4 separate regions of the Homo sapiens genome follow, and all the other regions are linked to region 4. Evidence: promoter capture Hi-C in 16 types of primary human blood cells and fetal thymus (Javierre and others, 2016). All regions are on one chromosome and are shown on one strand. The core of a region is centred on a gene start or on the middle of the fragment in contact, and the rest is flanking DNA. Distances in the headings are between cores, read along the strand shown. Region 1 overlaps LOC105377524 (a long non-coding RNA gene). Region 2 overlaps PALLD (palladin, cytoskeletal associated protein). Region 3 overlaps PALLD (palladin, cytoskeletal associated protein). Region 4 holds the start of PALLD (palladin, cytoskeletal associated protein).

Region 1 (5,496 bases), core at 1,007-3,506, 300 kb after region 4:
CATCATAATCTATGTCCAGGAACAGTGGGGTGGTTCAGGCTACTGAACCAGGTGAGTGGGTGCTCTGAATGTCTGGAGATTTGCCTGGGCATGAAGCAAAGAGGGCCTCCATGCACCAGGATCTCTGTACAGGAAGGACTGGGCAGGTCAGGCTGCTGATCCAGGTAAGCATCGTCCTCTGAGTGCCTGGAGATCTGCTTGGTTTGAAGCAAGGAGTGCCCCCCTCTACAAAGATCTCTGCACAGGAGGGGTGAGGCAACTTGGGCTGCTGAATCAGGCAAGCAGATGCTCTGACTACCTGGAGCTTTGCCTAGGCATGGAGCAGAGAGCCATGCTAGACCACAATTTATGCCCAGGAAGTGTGGGGCAGCTCAGGCTGCTGAAGCAGGTGAATGGGTACCCTGCATGCATGGACATCTGTATGGGCATGGAGTGGAGAGGGCCTGACTGGACCACAATCTGTGTCTATGAAGGATAGGGTGGCTCAGGCTATTCGTCCAATCAAATAGATGCTCCAAGTGCCTGAAATTCTGCCTGGGAGTGGAGTGGTATGGACCCCATTGCATCATGATCTCAGGATAGCAGGCTGGGGCACCAAGAAATGGCACATGCAGACTGATTCCAGATTACTAAACTTGACCTGGCTGCAAATCTCACTGTCCAGGAGAAACTGCAGCTTTAGAAGTACTCCTCTTTCCCCAGGATTGCAACAGGGTAGAACACAATTCCAACACCTACTGCTGAGATGCTTTCCACAGTTCTGGCTGTGGAGGCCCCTACCCAACTCCAGGCCAGGCACTCCAGTCTCCAGCTTGAGACTAAAATGCCTGTGTGGCAACACTGCCAGGTCACCCCAGAATCTATAACAGTTTCTGACTGAAAATCTATGTTGTCTGATATTAGTATAGCCAAACCAAATCTCTTTTATTTGCTGTTTGCATAGAATATCTTTTCCCATCATTTTACTTCCAGCCTCTTTGTGCTTTGGGATCTAAAAGGAGTCTTTTCAGACAGTATATATTCGATTATGTTTATTTTTTTAATCTATTCTGCCAATGTCTACCTTTGGATTGGAGTGTTTAAACCATTTACATTTAAAGTAATTGCTAATATGGATTTTTAGTCTTATACTATTATTGTTCCTCATTTTCTCAATTGCCACTTCCTTTCATTTCCATTGATTTTTATGTCTTATCATTTTGATCCCTTCTCATTTTCTAACGTTATTGAAATATATCTTCCATTTTAAAAAATAAATTTGAATGTATATATGTAAGGTATACAACATGATGTTTTAAGATATAGCTATAGATAGTAAAATTATTACCATAGTGATGCAAATTAATTTGTTCATGTTACCTAGTTACCCATTATTTTTCTTTCCTTGATATATAATATTTTACATATTTATGGGGTATATGTGAGTGTTTGTTGCAGGGATAGAATATGTAATGGTCCCATTGTTACTGCAATACCAAGGGTTTGGTCTAGGCCCTACTGCTCACTGCACAGAAAGCCAATCACTGAGATGATGAGTACTGCCAAGGAAGAAGGCTTTAACTTGGTGCTGCAGCCAAGGAGATGGGAGCTCAGTCTCCAATTCATCTCCCTGACTGACTAACTATGGGTTTATATAGCAGGGAAGAAATGTAACCATGCATAAGAAAACAGGAACTAAGGAGGGGCAAGGAAGCCATCATCATGAATGAGAAGTCTGACAACTGGTGCTGTGATCTGGTGAGTTTCAGTCCTTTGATACTTTTCTGAGGCAAATTTCAGTTCTTTGATACTTTTCTGAGAGGCCTGAAGATCCTGTCCAAAGGAAGGAACTCAGATAAAACAAATATAAGCTTCAAGCTTTAAGAGCAGAAGGATCAATTTCTACGTTTATCAAAAAGAACAGTATATGGGACTATTGGGTTGGTTTCAACATCAGGGTACTTGGGGTATCTGTCACCTTGCATATTTATCCTTTCTATATTTTGGTATCATTTCAAGTTTTATCACAATATTCTTGCTAAGTGTAGTCATCATAGTCTGCTACCAAACATTAGGACTTATTTTTTTCCATCTAAATGCATGTTAATACCCATTAACCAACATCTCTTTATACAGCCGCCTGCCTACCCACCTTTCCCACTCTCTGGTATCTAGCATTTTATTCTCCATGTTAATGAGATCAAGTTTCTTAACTCCCACATATGAATGAGAAGATGTGGTATTTGTCTTTCTGTGCCTGACTTATTTCACTTAGTATAATAACCTCCAGTTCCATTCATGTTGCTGCAAATGACGTGATTTTATTCTTCTTCTATGGCCAATTAGTATTCTATTGTGTGTTTATGCCACATTTTCTTTATTGAGTCATCTATTGATAGACACCTAGGTTGATTCCATATCTTTGCTATTGTGAAGAGTGATACAATAACTATGAGTGCAGGTATCCCTCTGATATACAGATTTATTTTCCTTTGGATAAATATTCAGTAGTGGTGTGTCCAGAGTTGGTTCCTTCTGGTGGGTTCATGGTCTCGCTCACTTCAAGAATGGAGCCGCAGACCTTTGCAGTAAGTGTTACAGCTCTTAAAGGTGGCACAGACCCAAAGAGTGAGCAGCAGCAAGATTTACTGTGAAGAGCAAGAGAACAAAGCTTCCACAACGTGGAAGGGGACCCCAGCAGGTTGCGACTACTAGCTGGGGTGGCCAGCTTTTATTCCCTTATTTTTCCCCTCCCATGTCCTGTTTCTGTCCTATCAGAATGCCCTTTTCTCAGTCCTCCCCATGATTGGTTACTTTTAGAATCCTGCTGATTGGTCCATTTTATGGGATGCTGATTGATCCCTTTACAGAGTGCTGATTGGTGCATTTTACAAACCTCTTGCCAGCTACAGAGTGCTGAGCGGTGCGTTTTACAATCCTAGCCACAGAGTGCTGATTGGTGTGGTTTTTGTTTGTTTGTTTGTTTGTTTGTTTGTTTTTTTGAGAGGGAGTCTCACTCTGTCGCCCAGGCTGGAGTGCAGTGACGCAATCTTGGCTCACTGCAAGCTCCACCTCCCGGGTTCACACCATTCTCCTGCCTCAGCCTCACGAGTAGCTGGGACTACAGGCGCCTGCCACCGCACCCAGCTAAATTTTTGTATTTTTAGTACAGGCGGGGTTTCACTGTGTTAGCCAGGATGGTCTTGATTTCCTGACCTTGTGATCTGCCCACCTCGGCCTCCCAAAGTGCTGGGATTACAGGCGTGAGCCACCACGCCCAGCTGATTGGTGCGTTTTACAATCCTCTTGTAAAACAGAAAAGTTCTCCAAGTCCCCACTGACCCAGGAAGTCCAACTGGCTTCACCTGTCAGTGGGATTTCTGGATCATGTGGTAGTACTATTTTTAGTTTATTGAGAAATCTCCACACTGCTTTTTATAGTGGCTGCATAATTTACATTTCACCAACAGTGTTTAATAGTTCCCTTTTCTCTGGATTCTCACCAGCATCTGTTATTTTGTGATTTTTAAATAAAAGCCATTGTAACTGAGGTGAGGTGATATCTCATTGTAGTTTTGACTTGCATTTCCCTGATGATTAGTGATCTTGAGCATTTTGTCATATACCTCTTGGCCACTTGTATTTCTTCTTGAGAAATGTCTATTCATGTCTTAGCCCAATTTTTAATGGGACTATTGGTTTTTTACTGTTGAGTTGTTTGAGTTCCTTATATATTCTGGATACAGCCCCCTTTTGAATGAGTAGTTTGCAAACAGTTTCTCCTATTCAAGCAGTTGTCTCTTCACTTATTGAATGTTTCTTTTGCTGTGCAGAAGCTTTTTTGTTTAATATAGTCCCTTTTGTCTATTTTGGGTTCTGTTGCTTGTGATTTTGAGGTTTTAGTCATAAAATCGTTGCATGGACCAGTGTCCTGAAGAGTTTTCCCTATGTATTCTTCTAGTAGTTTTATAGTTTCAGGTATCACATTTAAGTTGTTCATCCATCTTGAGTTGATTTTTGTACATAGACATAGGGGTCTAGTCTCATTCTTCTGCATATGGCTAGCCAGTTTTTTTTAATGTACCATTTATTGAAGAAGGTGTCTTTTCCCCAGTGTATGTTCCTCATGACTTTGTTGAAGATCAATTGACTGTAAATATATAGATTTATTTCTTGAGTCTCTATTCTGTTTCTTTGGTCTATCTGTCTATTTTTCCATTAATACAATGTTGTTTTGGTTACTATAGGCTTGTAATATGTTGGGAAATCAGGTATTGTGATGTCTCTGGCTTTGTTTTTTGCTCAGGATTGCTTTAGCTTTTCTGGATCTTTTTTGATTAATACAAGTGTCAGGCTAATTTTTTCTATTTTTGTGAAAACTGACATTGGTGTTTTGATAGGGATTGAATTGAATCTGTAGATTGCTTTGGGTTACATAATCATTTTAATGATATTAATTCTTCTGATCCATGAGCACATAGTATCTTTCCATTTGTCCTCTTTAATTTTTTCATCAGTGTTTTGTAGTTTTCCTAGTAGAAATCTTTCACTTCCTTCATTAAATTTATTCCTAGGCATTTTTTTGGTAGCTGTTGTAAATAGGATTTAGTTCTTGATTTCTCTTTGGGGTATTTCGTTATTGGTGTATAGGCATGTGACTGATTTTTGTGTTATGATTTTGTATCCTGAAACTTTACTGCATATGCTTATCAGTTCTAGGAGTTTTTTGTGGAGTCTTTTGTTTTTTCTTTTTTTTAAATAATATAAAATTCTGTTATCTGCAGAGAGGGACAATTTGACTTCCTTTTCCCCAATTTGGATGCATTTTATTTCTTTTTCTTAACTGACTAATCTGGCTAAGGTTTCCAGTAACATGTTGAATAGGAGTGATGCAAGTAGACATCCTTGTCTTGTTCCAGTTCCTGGATGAAATGCTTTCCATATTTCTCCATTCAGTATGATGTTAGCTGTGGGTTTGTAATAAATGACCTTTATTATTTTGTTATATGTTCCTTCTATACCTAGTTTGTTGAGTGTTTTTATCATGAGGGAGTGTTGGATTTTATCAAATACTTTTTCTGCATCTATTGAGATAATCACGTTTCTTGTCCTTCATTCTGTTGATGTGATTTATCATCATATTTATTCATCTGCATATGTCAACCCATCATAGTACCCCTGGAATAAGTCCCACTTGTTTGTGATGTATTATCCTTTTGATGTGCTATTGGATTTAATTTGCCAGTATTTTCTTTAGGATTTTTGCATCTATGTTCATCAGGTATATTGGCCTGTAGTTTTCCTTGTCTGGTTTTGGTATCAGCATTTGGTAATGCTGGCCTTGTTAAATGAGTTAGGGAGAATTCCCTCCTCTTCAGTCTTTTGGAATAGTTTGTGGAGGATTGATATAAGTTCTTCATTATACATTTGACAGAATTCAGCAGAGAATCTATTTGGTCCTGGTCTTTTCTTTGTTGGAAGACATTTTATTACCAATTCTAATTACTATTCATTATT
Region 2 (4,816 bases), core at 413-2,912, 410 kb before region 4:
GATCCTCATTTTGGCATTCTCTTTGGTGTAACTGCACAGTCACTCATTATTTTGCTAAACTATGTGATTGCTTTGGTCTCTTATGAATTGCTTGAGCTACACACATCGAGTGTGATACACAGCCCAGTATATGTTTAGAGCTGTGTGTTCTATCCCAAGTAGAATTTGGATGCAGTCAACAATATCTAATGTTTTTCTTATTCCCAAAAGATTAACCCAGGTGGAAAAATATCATATTCTATAAAATATTCTGCTGAACTTTAATATTTTCCTCCCTCCTTGGTTCTCACCCTTCTCTTGGCTGCTTTCTGTAATTATTTTCCACTGCTCAGGAGAGCTCTACCGTCTGTGTTTCATTACTGAACTAATTTTTCCACTCTAGTCTTCCTCTTTTCCTTGGTTATTTCATTTCATCTGGGCTACAGTGTACTAGAAAACATACATGTATTCTCCCTTTCAAACCCAAATACTTTTTTTTCTAAACTCAAATAACTTTAAAATTTCAAAATTTAAGGTAACTAAAGGGCATTAAGGAAGTAAGGAGTCAACTTCAGTTTTCTGTCAACTACACTTTATGCTTTTGGGATTACTATATCTTGAAAGATTTAGCTATTTTGAATTTTTTTTTCACCACCTTTTATGACATGACTATTTAAACTCATGTCTTAATTCATAAATTATAAGAAAAAAGTTTTAATATACGGTAATAGATGTTGTAAAGCTGAGATTCTAAGAGCATTAAACATTTCCAGAATGGCATCCTTACAGCAACAAATGGTAACTTATGCCAAGAGTTAGGTAGAAAAATGGTGTGTCACTGGTCATGGTTTAAATGCCACTTTGTTTTGCTAATGGATAGTGAAGTTCACTCCAATTTTTAAGTGATGACTCACAGAACTTATATCTGCCATATTTGGACATACCAGTTACTGAAGCCCCCAAGACAGAAAAGAAGGGGTTTTACTCTTGGAATTAAAATCAACTAGGCAACATGCTCAGAAACTTGGAACAAATACTACTACTGCTAAGTGGCATAAATATCAAAATTCTCTCACAGCAATTTCAGTGGGATATATACATTTACACACTGAGGCCTAGACTTCATGAGTTTCCCTTCCTTTTGCCTGTCTTGGGTTATTTAGGTAAAGAAGACTCTTAGCCCTACCCCTTAAGATGCTGGGAGTGTCAACTGATCTTTGGAGTTGGTTGGAATACTATAATAGGTAGTGTTAGAAACTGGTCTGTTTACTGTGATGCTCTGGGTTCTTTGAATCTTTTTTTTTTCTCCTTTTGATAGACCCAGAGTAGTTATTTTACCCTTGGCTGAAATCACAGGTTGGATAGGATATTCTATTAGGAGGGCTGTTCTTGGTCCACTTCTCATTGCTTTGTCTTCTCTCCAAAGGGTAGAGCAAAGAACCAGAGAGGGTTAACCATGGGGCTCAGCCTGGGATTTGCAAAGCAGAGAATTCTGGGGCCTGGAATAAGGGCAGTAACCACTCTCTTTTGGGGCTTCTCTTGGCCCTGAGGGTGCTGAGAGTAGAGAGCAGCTTCCCAGCTTCATGTGTGGCTGATGTCAGCTGTGCTATGGGTGTGGCCGTCCTCTAGCTCACAGCTCCTCCACCCAAGCCCACAGCTGTGGCAGTTGTGGCACAGCCACATCTGCTGCCTAAGTCCTTTCCCATGGAGGTGATAAAATGGAAAAGCCAGGAGGTCAGAAGACCACACAGCAACAACATACTGGGTAGAAATTCCATCCCAAATTGACTTGCTTACTTTCTGACAGTACTGTGGGAACGGAGTACCTAGACACAGAACTGATCCTTTACATCTGGTTCCACAGGCTTCTGTTGTAGGCCTGTTGCTTTAAGATGGGGTAGTTACTGTCTCTGAATTAAAATAATGACAGTAACTAGCATTTATTGAAAGCATAGTATGTGCCAGGTAAACTGAATGCTTTTTACATGTACTATTTAAATCTGTATTATTATTATTATTATTATCATCCTCATTTTACGAGGGAGGAAACAGGCACAGAGAAGTTAAGTGACTTGCTAAGGTCACACAGGTAGTGAGTGGCAGAGCTAGAATTCCAGCTGAGATTGCCTGATGCCAAAGTTCATGCTCATAACCCCTGTACTGCATGGCCTGCCGGCCTCATCCTAGGTTTTTTCAGTATCATCGGTGTTGCCCTACAATCTTGGTATTTGTAGTAACATTTCTTTTTTATTTCCTTCCTTTCCTTTTTTTCCTATGTTAACAAGGGTTTCTTTTTTTTGGCATTATATATTGGGCTTTGGGTAAGATTACATTTATTTTCTAAAAATTTATTTTTGGCTAATGGCAGTGGCTCACGCTTGTAATTCCAGTGCTTTGGGAGGCTGAGATGGGAGGACTGCTTGAGCCCAAGAGTTCTAAGCTGCAGTGAGCCATGATTATGCCACTGTACTCCAGCCTGGGTGACTGAGGAAGACCTTGTCTCTAAATGAATAAACAAAAATTTCTTTTTTATTCTAATTGATAAATTATAATTGTATATATTTGTGGGGTACAATGTGATATTATATGTATGTAATATGGAATGATCCAAGGGAGATTTTCAGCAGCTCACCTTCATCTAGTGACTTCATAATAATTTGTCAAGAGAGTTTAAATGACTGGAGACTACTGACCCCCAAGGCTGGCCTGCTGTCTTAAACTCTGCACACTGCCATTGGCCATGAGCACTGAGTCAGTCCTTCCTCACTGAGAACTTTTCCACATGTAAAAATGCATTATTATAATTTGAGGAAGACACTAAGCGGACTCACAATTGCAGTTTTACGTTTATGTTCTTTTGTTCTATAAAATGGCTTATTCCAATAACAATTTAAAACATGCTAAGAAAAATGTCTTGAAATTAATAGCAGGTTCCCAGTGTTGGCAAATACGTAAGGACCACAGATAATTCCATCCCATAATATACCCCAGCCTTTCTAGGGCAAAAGAGGAATAAATGACCCAACACGAAGAAAAATTTTGGATTTTGTCAGTTCTCCACCATTTTCTTAAACAGGCAGAAAACTAAACTAAAAGCTAGAATTTGTTAATGTCAAGGAAATGCACTGAAAATATAATAAGGAAAAAAGAGGCCGAGGCAGGTGGATCACCTGAGGTGAAACCCCGTCTCTATTAAAAATACAAAAAATTAGCTGAGCGTGGTGGTGCTGAGGCAGAAGAATTGCTTGAACCCAGGAGGTGGAGACTGCAGTGGGCTAAGATCATGCCACTGCACTCCAGCCTGGGCAACAGAGCAAGATTCCGTCTCAAAAAAGAAAAAAAAAAAAAAAAAAAAGAAAAAAAAGCAAGTTCCGCTTTTGTTTCTTCATATATATCAAATATGAACACAAACATTAAAATGCAACTTCTTAATAGTGATTTAGACTTTTTCAGGGTGATGGTCATGTATTCATTGATTAAAACATTTAGAACTTTAAGAATGTGCATTAATATAGAAGCTTTTCATTAACAGTGAAGAGTTTGCTGTGCTCTATCACAACCTGATTAGCTGGATAATCTGTTTTCATTCTGATCTTAATATTATTGCAGAAAAATATATTTATATGACCATGGAATATTAGAATATAATAAACCTTGAATAAACTTTATTTATTTATTTATTTAGAAACAGAGTCTCAGGCCGGGTGCAGTGCCTCACACCTGTAATGCTAACACTTTGGGAGGCCGAGGCGGGCGGATCACGAGGTCAGGAGATCGAGACCATCCTGGCTAACATGGTGAAACCCCATCTCTACTAAAAATAAAAAAAAATTAGCCGGGCATGGTGGGTGCCTGTAGTCCCAGCTACTAGGGAGGCTGAGGCAGGAGAATGGTGTGAACGCAGGAGGCGGAGCTTGCAGTGAGCCGAGATCGCGCCACTGCATTCCAGCCTGGGCGACAGAGTGAGATTCCATCTCAAAAAAAAAAAAAAAAAAAAAAAAAAAAAACCAACAAAACAAAAAACAAAGTCTCACTCTGTCAACCAGGCTGGAGTGCAGTGGTGCAGTCTTGGCTCACTGAAACCTCCGCATCCCAGGTTCAAGTGATTCTCATGCTTCAACCTCCTGAGTAGCTGGGATTACAGGTGCCTACCACCACACCTGGCTAATTTTTGTATTTTTAGTAGAGACAGGGTTTCGCCATGTTGGCCAGGCTGGTCTCAAACTCCGGGGCTGAGGCAATCCACCTGCCTCAGCCTCCCAAAGTGCTGGGACTACAGATGTGAGCCACTGCACCTGGGCCAGAAACTTTAATTAAAAGTTTGTAGTGTCATTAAAATTATTTATATAGTTTCTAATGCTAAATATTTTCTTCAAAAGAAATAATATGGAATGATATAAGTAGATCAGAGATTCTAAAAAGATGACTTCTAGAGAAAACTGCTCATTTTACCATGCCTTTTTTTTTCTTTTTAAAAGTGTGTTATTTATACTACTTTTGCAGACTTTAGTAAAACTACCTGTCATACATTGAGCTCTTAAGGTACAAAATAACTTTTTACTCATTTTTGTATCCCCTATATCCAGCATAGTGACTAAAATGTATAACATAATAAAAAAGAATTTGCAGGCTCGAACTGGCAACATGATACCCAGCAGCCTCCTATTAAATTCTAAGAAGGCAACTGATTTTTTGACCCTAAGTCTAAAGGCAAATACAAGAGAAAACATTTTGATGAAAACTGATAAACCTGAATGCTATCAAAATTATCATTTGTCTACATTTGCACATTAAATCCCACTGATGTGTTTCTTTTAAAATATTTTACTTTGTTGAG
Region 3 (4,873 bases), core at 142-2,641, 430 kb before region 4:
CTTATATTTAATAAAGAATATTAAAGCAATATTCTTTACTGGCAATATTTTTCTTTTAGTACATTGAATATATTATTTCTTTTTTTCCCGGCCTGTAAGGTTTCTGCTATCTGCTGTTGGCCTAATGGGTATTCCCTTATATGTGACTTGACGTTTTTCTCTTGCTGTTGTTAGAATTCTTTCTTTGTATTTGACTTTTGACAATTTGACTATAATGTGCCTCAGAGAGGAACTGTTTAGGTTGAATCTCTTTGGGGACTTTAAGCTTCTTAGAGCTAGATGTTCATCTCTTTTCCAAAACTTGGGAAGTTTTTTGCTGTGATTTCATTAAATCTGTTTTCTATACCTTTTTCCTTCTCTTCTCCATCTGGAGTTCCAAAATGCAAATATTTGTTCACTTAACAGTGTCCCATACATTCTGTAGGCTTTCTTTATTCTTTTTTTTTTGTCTGCATGAGTTATTTCAAAAGGCCTACCTCCAAGTTCAGAAATTCTTTCCCCTGCTTTGTCTAATCTGTTGTTGAAGCTCTTGATTGCATTTTTTATTTTATTCATTGAATTCTTCAACTCTAAGATTTCTGTTGGGTTTTTTTTTTTTATGTTCTTTGTTGAATTTCTCATTCAAATCATGAATTACTTTCCTGATTTGAGGGAACAGTTTAGCTATATTCTCTTTACCTCACTGAGCTTCCTTAAGATTATTATTTTCAATTCTTTTTATGGCATTTCACATATTTCCTTATGATTAAGGTGTGTTACTGGAGCATTATTGTGTTCTTTTGGAGGTATCATGGTTTCTTGTTTTTTCATGTTTGATATGTTCCTTGATGTTGATTTCTATGCATCTGGTAGAACAGTCACCTCTTCTAATTTGATGAAAGGTTTTGTAGGGAAAGACGTATTTGTATTGGAGGATCTTATAGTGTCAGTTAGGGGGGGTGTGTTGGCTTTGGTTCTAGGTGGATGCAGTACTGTAGTGTCTGTGCAGATTCTTCAGCTGTAATCCAGTCTGCTGATGTTTGTAAGTGCCCAGTGGCCTAGGCTGTGAGAATTTGTAGCAGTGGTGGTGCAGCTTTGCTGGGGTGGGCTCACTGGATTGTTTCTCAAATTGGGGGCATGTGTGTGAACGGTGTCAACCAACTTGGGGTCTTGCTTGCTGGGATTGGGGCCACAGGGATGTTTCTCAGGCCCTGGGTACAGGCATGCTCATTTGGCCTGGGGGTGTGTCTGCCAGAGGTGGGCCAAGTGGGCTGTTTCTTGGGCTTGGGACAGTGGTGTGCCTCTCAGCCAGCCAGGGGGTGTGTCCATGGGGGTTGACCCCATGGGGCTCTTTCTTAGGCCCTGGGCATGGTCATGTGACAGCTCACCTGGCCCAGGGGTGTGTCTACTGGAAGTTAATCTCCCAAGCTGTTTCTCAGGCCCTGGGCATGGGCACAGGGCTGCTGGGAAGGTCTAGGGACATGTATGCTGGGATTGGGCCCACTGGACTGTTTCTCATACCCTAGCCTGGGCACAGTTCCACTGGGTAGGCCTGGAGGCATGTCCATGGAGGTAGGGGGCATTGGGCTGTTTCTCAGGCTTAGGAGATAGGCTGGTACTGGTTCTGGCCTGAGGGCATGTCAGGTGCTTAGCAGCTCAGGGGCCCAGTTTGGCCAGCTCAAGGGTAGGTATGTATGCTTTGGGAGAATTTGCTAGACTGTTTCTCTGCCTGGAAGTTCAGGCAATGATGGTTGGTTTTCCTGCTGTGCAGAACCAGAGTCACAGCCAATCCTGGGCCCAGGTTCTGAGCCTCCAGGGTTGTGGCATTGCAGCCACCCATGTGTGCTTGGTGGAATGACAGAGCCGCTGGGCTGGAGAGGTGCATTTGCTACTGGGCCCCACAGCAGGCACCTAAGGGGTGGAGAGTACATATCTCATGTTCCTAATCCAGAGGAATGCAGCTGTGCAATCGACAGTGGCTCTCTAAAGTCGGTTCAGGGCTTGTGAGGACTGTGGAATTCTCCTGTAGTAAGGATTGTAGGTGTTTGCAGTGGTAATGGGGGCTGATGGGGCTCTGCTTACGTTTTCCCAGCAAAGGAAAGTTTCTCCTCTTGACTCCAGGCCAGTCAGAGTTGGGGGATGCAGGGGCATGGGCAGCAGAGACAAGGTGTCTCCATGCTGCCTTCTGGACTTTCAGTGACCGCAGCTACCCCCACTGCACTCCAGTGCTCTTCCTTTGACACTTCAGTTGAATGTTAACTGTTTGTTCATTTGTTGATCCTTTCTTGGGGGGATGAATGCCAGGAACCTCTAGTCAGCCATCTTGCTGACATCACTCTTATGTAACTTCCCTTCCTCGTCAAATGCTGTTTTTCATATTTATCCCTGCCAATAGAAGTAAATCCATTTCTTTACCTTTAACTCTGAATAGTAAGTAATATTTCATTGTATGAATTAATTAGTTTTGTTCCTTCTTCTACTAATGACAAATTAGGCTTTCCTCAAATTTTTTATCCTTTTCTACGTATTTAAGCTTCTGTAGGGCCTGGTTCTTAATTTTTTTGGTGCCATATGCCTTTTTGACCCTCTGGTAAATCTTCTGGATCCCTTCTCAAAATAATGTTCATGGAGGCATAAAATACATAAAACAAATTATTTTTAAGTAATTATCAAAGTATTAAAAACAAATTTATAATACAAATGCCTATAAATTACATCTATTGGTAACTCTAACAACTGCCATAATTTTGAAGTAATGCTGAATTTAGATGGATTTTAAGATATTTCAATATTTGTAATATAATTTTTACTAGGACAGTCCCAGGTATTTTATACTGTTGTGTTTTGTTGCCTACATTCATAATTGAAGGAAATTCTAAATTTCAGCTAGGGGGTAATGTTTTTCCCATCCAAGTTCACAAATTTTAACCATCTGTGGAATTTTGTTAGGTGTGTACACATTTTGTAATTGAAATTTTACTTTAGTTTCCAACTACACTAAAATAATAGCTGAAATTTATTGAGCTCTTACTATGTGCCAGGTACCATGTCAAAATTATCATCCCATATAATCTTCACAGCAGCACAAAGAGAGGGGTGCTATTTTAATCTCCATTTTCCAAATAAGGAAACTGAGGCTTGGGGAGGTAAAGTAACTTGCTTATGGGTCACACATGATCAAAAGAGCTAGGATTCAAATCCTGGTTGGCCAACTCCAACACTCAAGTTCCTCACCACCATAATATAGAAGTTGTATTTCTATAATTTAAAGGGGTCAAACTAAATTTACATGATGATAAAGGAGGTTGTAGCTACTGAGCAAGCCAAGGGGATTGTCATGTTATGCATGTTCATAAAAGGGAAAATCAAGGACAAATTCAGCATTAAAATATATAATGAATCTTGTAAACTACATAGCAAGTCATGGGGTATAGAAGACAATGTGAAATACACAATTCTAGTCTAATTCAAATGTATCCTCAAAGCTCCATTATATTGCATATGTAAAAGATGAAATATTTTCACCTTATGGAGGCTGTGAATTAGATAAATGACCAGCTTTCTCTTTCCCGTAGTAGGAAAGCCTAGGCCCAAATATGTTGTCCGTCTGTTGTAACTATGTAGATATTAATGCTATATGTGTATATGAATATGGGTGTGTGTGTGTGTGTAATATCTCATTCCTTGTTCCATTTATACTTACTTTCTTCCTTTTCCCCTCACTTTTAATTTATATCATCTTGCTGTATTTTATGTATCCTTGTACGTCATGGCACTGGTGTGTATTTACATGCATACCTACAGTACATTGCTGTGGCAGGCAGAACTGTAAGATGGCCCCTAATATCCCCATCCTCTGGTGTATACACACCTTCTCTCAGTTATTCCAATCAAATGGCGATTTAGCTGCTGCTTTGAAGGGATTTGCAGATGTAATTAAGGTTCCCAAAGTCAGGTGACTTTAAGAAAGGGAGATTATCTGGATGGGCCTGACGTAATTTAAAAGGGACTGGGCCTTTGACAAAGAGAAAGTGTGAGAGGGATCTGAGGTGAAGGAGATTCTCACCACTAACCCTGAAGATGGAGCGGGCTACATGGCAAGGAATACAGGCGGCCTTCAGGAGCTGAGAGAGAGAGCTCCTGGCTGAGGGACTAAAGGAGACGTCTCTTCTACAATTGCACAGAGCTATCACAACCACTTGAATTTTGAAGAGGATCTTGAGCTCCAGATGAGAATACAGTCCAGCTGATACAATGATTTTAGCTTTATAAGATCCTGAACAGAGAACCCAGCTACATCCTGCCCGAACTTGATTTACAGAACTGTGAGTAATAAATGAGTGATGCTGAAGCCTCAAACATCACTCAAAGTTTATGCTAATTGTTATGGCAGCAACAGAAAACTAAAACTGAATATTTATTTTGCTTCACAAAACTGCAACTATTATTTGTCAAATATTTATTGATGTTAAATCCACATTACACCAGCACAACAATCCAAAGTAGTATGATTGATTGATAGTACTTTTTTTTTTATAAATACAATATAAAGGTGGCAAAATAATGCTAGTTAATCCCAAACCCAGCAAATCAGCAAAAAAAGGTCACATTCAGAAAAATTTGGCAAGTAAGACATAAGTCATAATTCTACAATAGAGATAGGTCCATGAGAGACTGTGTATGGTATCTTAAATTCCATATTAGCAATGCATATAAGTGCGGTCAAAGAAACTTGAACCACACTGCATAGAACATCTGCCACCCGGTGCTCAAGCCTATTAATCACTTAAACCTTGGTTGGTTGGTGTTCTTACAAAGAAGTAGAAAGCTGTACATGTGAAACAGTAATATGAAATATATGGGGTGGTACACAGATATAAAATTATTTTAAAAA
Region 4 (4,917 bases), core at 245-2,744:
TGTCTGGGCCTTGCAGATTCCACTTGGTATCTCTTAAAGAACTTGTCATATTTATTTTTAAACCTGAATAATGATTGCCCTCTACATTTTTAAAAAATGAGGTAAGGAGGTCAAAGTGATTGTACTTGTCCAGTGCAATCCAGATCCTCATTCTATTGTGAAATATGCTATAAGGCCAGTTTTAATATTCAGCTCTAGCAATAACAGAGAAACCCAGAGGAAGAGCTGACACAGAACCCCTGGGATACAGACCCTAATCCATACCAGATTCTAGGATGCCAGAGGACTAATTTATATTCTAGGAATGTGTAATCATGTATTTACAGGGCAGTTAGTGGCCAGATAAACCTCATCGGCCTTTTCTGCTGTTAGCAATAACTTGTCAAAGAGACTTTGATTTTAAAAATCTGAAAAAAAAATCTGAATAATTGAGGTGAGTATTCAAGTTCTTTCTGTGAGAAAAAACATTGGAAGGCACATTTATCATGAAATGAGGATTTAATTTCTGCATATATGTGATTGAATAGATTTGTAATAGTTTTATATTGCCAAGAAATGGCTTTATATGTCACCACATTATTCATACTAGAAGGCAATTAGTATTTTTAGCAAATGTTAATAAGTAATATGAGCCTGAAATCATTTTATGTCAACCTCCTATATTGGATTCAAGACAATTTCATGTGCAACTTAAAACAACATGATAAAAATTATTCTGTGATGTTTAAACTTGACTGGACTCGAGATTGCACTGTGGTTTCCCTTAGTAAGCGTTATCTTATTAAAAATATGTATGTAAATTTTATGCATGAATATAATTTAAAATACCTGCTGTTACTATCCCAACTCATTTAATTATGTCCAGTGAGTTACTTTTAGAATCTTTTGAAAGTGTAATTAACAATTTATAATGTTACTGAAATCTAAGGTCTATCACTTTAAGCCATCATCACTTATCTAGCTTAAATATGGGTGAGGGTCTAGAAAGCTGCGTTTTCCTTTTCTGTGAAACATAACACATACACGATCTTGACAAAAGCTGGCTCCATAAATACATTTAATCCTTTTGGAATTGATAGCACCATCTTAGCATGCTTAAGCTTATAACAGAAAGTGTAATTCTCTGACAGCAAAGGCAGAGATGAAGTGGGCAGGCAAATCTTACGTATTATCTGTTTTTGGCAAAACCGTAACATTCTCATTACGTTTCCTCTCCAAGCAAAAGAATAATTAAGGTATCTTGTAAATAGTATCATATCTTCAGAAAAACTTTTGTATTTTTAGTTTTTTTTTTTTTAAGTCCTTAAAATGTTGCCCTACTAGTTAGTATATTAAGATACACCTTACAGACCTTTTCAATGCTTGGTCAGTTTGAAGACTCCAGAGAGGTGATGAATTTCAGATGAGCATTTCTTCTTTTCTGGGAGAATGGAGGTTGTGGCCTTGCCTATTCATTAGAGACTGCCTGGTCCGTGGTCACTTTGAGGCAACTGTGGCCTCAGACTCTCATCTGTCCTCTTACTCCACTCAGCTATATTTGGTAACTGAGCTCATGTTTCAGCAGACTGCCACGATCAGGAATTCCAGCAGCGGGCTGGGAAGCACCCCCAGGACCGAGGGCTGGGTTCTTAGAAATAAAGCCACTTAACATAGAAGGAACTATATTTATGGATCTGATAAACGTAGGATTTAAACACATTCTTCTATACTTTGGACTTGTAGCTGGAAATCACCACCTGGACCTTTAACATGTTCTTAATCAATTTAAAGTACAGTATGTGACTCCAAGTAGAAAAAGTGATAATCCAAATGGAAGCTCTTCTTACTCTGATCTTCTGTTCTGTGCATTTAAATTTTGGTCATGTGCTAGATTACCCTAAAATAGTAAATTCAGTAACTGAAAATTTAGCCACCTGTCAAATTGAGTGGAAAGTCCCATTGTTCTCTTATTTCATATTGCTAATTAAAAATTGATATATGACTATGGTATGTATTAAAGGCCTTGTCTATAATAGTATTAAATAAGTATGAACACACAGGGACTGGATCTTATCCACATTGCAACATTGAGTTCTTAGCTCAATGCCTAGGACATCATGAGCATCTCTTAAATATTTGTCAAAGAAATAAATGAATGTTGAATGAATAATATTCAGGAAAAGTATCAACCCTCTTACAGTTGCAAAAAATGTTTCACAATCATTTAATATTTTGATCTTTCAAATGACAAATAGATATAGCAAGAGTTTAATATTTTGATCTTTTAAATAACAAACATAGATAGCAAGAAGAGAAAGCTTTTCTGTTTAAAGGTCAGGTAGCAGAATCAAATATAAGGGGGGCAAAAAGAGCAACACAAAAGCTCCCAGTTAACTTGGAAATGGGGTGCTGAGTCTTCCTTTGTCTGGGTAAGACCATCACATTTGATTCAGTTTAATATCTAAATATTTTTTCTTTTCTGATGTTAGAAAATTTGTGAAGGTCTGCTATTGTATTTTCTTTATAGGCCAAACTGGTCCTTTAGAAATGGTCCTTTCTGTGAGTGGATACTTCTGTGGGTCATTTCATCTATTATATTAATTAAGAAGTGATTTTAAAATTTATACTTACGGCTGGGCGTGGTGGCTTATGCCTGTAATTGCAGTACTTTGGGAGGCCGAGGTGGGTGGATCATGAGGTCAGGAGATTGAGACCATCCTGGCTAACACAGTGAAACCCCCTCTCTACTAAAAATACAAAAAATTAGCTGGGCGTGGTGGCGGGTGCCTGTAGTCCCAGCCACTTGGGAGGCTGAGGCAGGAGAATGGTGTGAACCCGGGAGGCGGAGCTTGCAGTGAGCCGAGATCCCATCACTGCACTCCAGCCTGGGTGACAGAGCGAGACTCCTTCTTAAAAAAAATAAAAATAAAAATAAAAAAATAAAATTTATACTTACAAGGAAATATAACTCTGATTGATTGTCTTAGTTTGTGTCATTATAACAAAATGCCACAGACTGGGTAATTTACAAAGAACAGAAATTGATTTCTCATAGTTCTGGAGGCTGGGAAGTCTAAGATCAAGGTGCCAGCAGGTTTGTTGTCTGGTGAAGTTCCTGTCTCTGCTTCCACAGTGATGCCTTGAGCACTGTGTCCTCACATGGCAGAAGGTGGAAGGGCAAGAGGGGGTCAAACTTCCTCCATCAAGCCCTAAGGGCATCAAATCCCATTCATGAGGAGTCCTCCTGAATCACCTTCTAAACGTTACACCTCCTGATACTGTTGCATAGGGGATTAGGAATCAACAAAAATTTTGAAGGGGACAAAAACCTTCAAACCATAGCATTGCTTAAACACATATTTATATCTGCTTTTTCCTAAAACCACAAGATAATAGTAAAAACTGAAAAGGGCAGAAATTGGGAGGGAAGACAATAGAAGATATCAGAAATGAACAAAATTGTTGGAAAGAGATAAATATAAGTATGCATGTAACTAAATTACAAAGCTTAAATGCCTGCAGGAGGAGATACAGAAAAGAAGCAAGTGATTCACCCCATGGAGTCTCAGAAAGGCTTGGGAATAGGAAGCAGTGAACCCATCTTTAGAAATAATTTTAATTGGCAACTCTGATTTTTGCCTCTGCCTTCTGGTGAACTGTGAGTCTCATGGTGAATTCCAGAGGCAATCATGTTGGACTACTGGCCAGACGAGGCCTCTCCCACATTTCTTTGGATTGCTTGGTTCCTAAATCCTGGTATAACACCAGTGAAGTGATGAAGCCATAAGAAGAAAAAAGAAAAAAAAACAGCTTGTGGTCCTGAGAGAGGCTTCAAAGATGGATATGACTTTACTCAAAAGGACACAGAAATGTGACCTTTTTGTGTGTGTATTGCAAATAGTGCAGCAAACCAAGCTTGTTTTAAAAATCTTATAAGAAGTTCTTTTCCTTAGAAAATTGGCATCAAAAAAATTTAGAAAGTTTGATCAACACTCTTAAGTTAGTATAGCAAGGTCCAGTTGATATTAAGGATGAGATTAGTGTGTGGACAGTAATATCATTTCTCATGCACTTTCATATTTTCCACCAGAGCCCATTTCTGTGTGCACGAAGGTTGGGAAAGGGAGTCTGTGGCTCCTTCATGGGGCTCCAGTTCAGCTTTCAAATGATTACTTCTTCTTATAGAAATTCCTGCTCTTTTGAAGCACTTATATTTGCATCAACCATCCTCCATCCCACTTTTTAAAATTAAGACTTTGGATCTAGTTGGGCTCTTGGTTCTCTTCTTCACTCCACACCCTGCCATTATTCTGGGTGACTCAGCACCCATTTGTCTATTCTATATGTTGGCATATTGGTTTTGGACCTGCTTTTCTCTATGAATCTTCATCTCTGTTCCTCTTACAGATCACACAAACAGACCTCCTCCACCTCCAAAATCAGATATAACTTATCTACTGCTTCATAACAAATTACTGCAAAAATTAATGTCTTAAAACAATATATATTTGTTATTTCACACAGTTTCTATGTGTCAGGAATCCATTAGTCTTAGCTGGGTAATTCCAGATCAGGGTATCATGAGATAGTACTGAAGATGTTGCCCCAGCTTCTTTCAGGTGGAAGCATGGCTGGGGCTGGAAAATCTGCTTCCAAGGCAGCTCACTCACGTGCCTGGAAAGTTAGTCCTGTTATTGGCTGGAACCCTGTTGACTTCTCTGTGTCACTGCCTGAGTTTCCTAGCTTCATGGCAGCTGGATTGTGCCACAATGTCTTTTTTTTTAAAGTGGAGTTTTGCTCTTGTTGCTGGAGTGCAGTGGCATGACCTCAGCTCACTGCAACCTCCACCTCCTGGGTTCAAGTGATTCTCCTGCCTCAGCCTCCCAAGTAGCTGGGATTACAGGTGCCCACCACCACGCCCAGATATTTTTTTGTATT

The links. The method cuts DNA at HindIII sites, captures the fragments that hold promoters and counts their contacts. A CHiCAGO score of 5 or more calls a contact.
Region 1: a contact is called between a fragment that was not itself captured here and the fragment with the promoter of PALLD in region 4, in 1 of 17 cell types (endothelial precursors). The highest score is 5.3, in endothelial precursors.
Region 2: a fragment that was not itself captured here is called in contact with the fragment with the promoter of PALLD in region 4 in 1 of 17 cell types (endothelial precursors); the score reaches 8.5 in endothelial precursors.
Region 3: a fragment that was not itself captured here is called in contact with the fragment with the promoter of PALLD in region 4 in 1 of 17 cell types (endothelial precursors); the score reaches 6.6 in endothelial precursors.

The regions. Positions count from the first base shown.
Region 1 is chr4:168,190,638-168,196,133 of GRCh38, reverse strand. It overlaps LOC105377524 (a long non-coding RNA gene), which reads left to right. Exons shown (of 3, transcript XR_939424.3): 2 at 1,638-1,737. Among named protein-coding and RNA genes, the nearest start is that of ANXA10, 100 kb to the right of the region's middle. The HindIII fragment of the contact is 793 bases long and covers 1,860-2,652 here.
Region 2 is chr4:168,904,309-168,909,124 of GRCh38, reverse strand. The region is part of intron 15 of PALLD (palladin, cytoskeletal associated protein); the gene reads right to left. It also overlaps a transcript of CBR4 not described here. Among named protein-coding and RNA genes, the nearest start is that of CBR4, 100 kb to the left of the region's middle. The HindIII fragment of the contact is 3,674 bases long and covers 1-3,499 here.
Region 3 is chr4:168,927,968-168,932,840 of GRCh38, reverse strand. It overlaps PALLD (palladin, cytoskeletal associated protein), which reads right to left. Exons shown (of 22, transcript NM_001166108.2): 22 at 4,400-4,873. It also overlaps a transcript of CBR4 not described here. Among named protein-coding and RNA genes, the nearest start is that of CBR4, 80 kb to the left of the region's middle. RefSeq lists an enhancer at 1,512-2,013. The HindIII fragment of the contact is 2,247 bases long and covers 268-2,514 here.
Region 4 is chr4:168,493,629-168,498,545 of GRCh38, reverse strand. It overlaps PALLD (palladin, cytoskeletal associated protein), which reads right to left and starts at 1,494. Exons shown (of 22, transcript NM_001166108.2): 1 at 1,352-1,494. The region is part of intron 1 of LOC107986198 (a long non-coding RNA gene); the gene reads left to right. The HindIII fragment of the contact is 1,197 bases long and covers 1,103-2,299 here.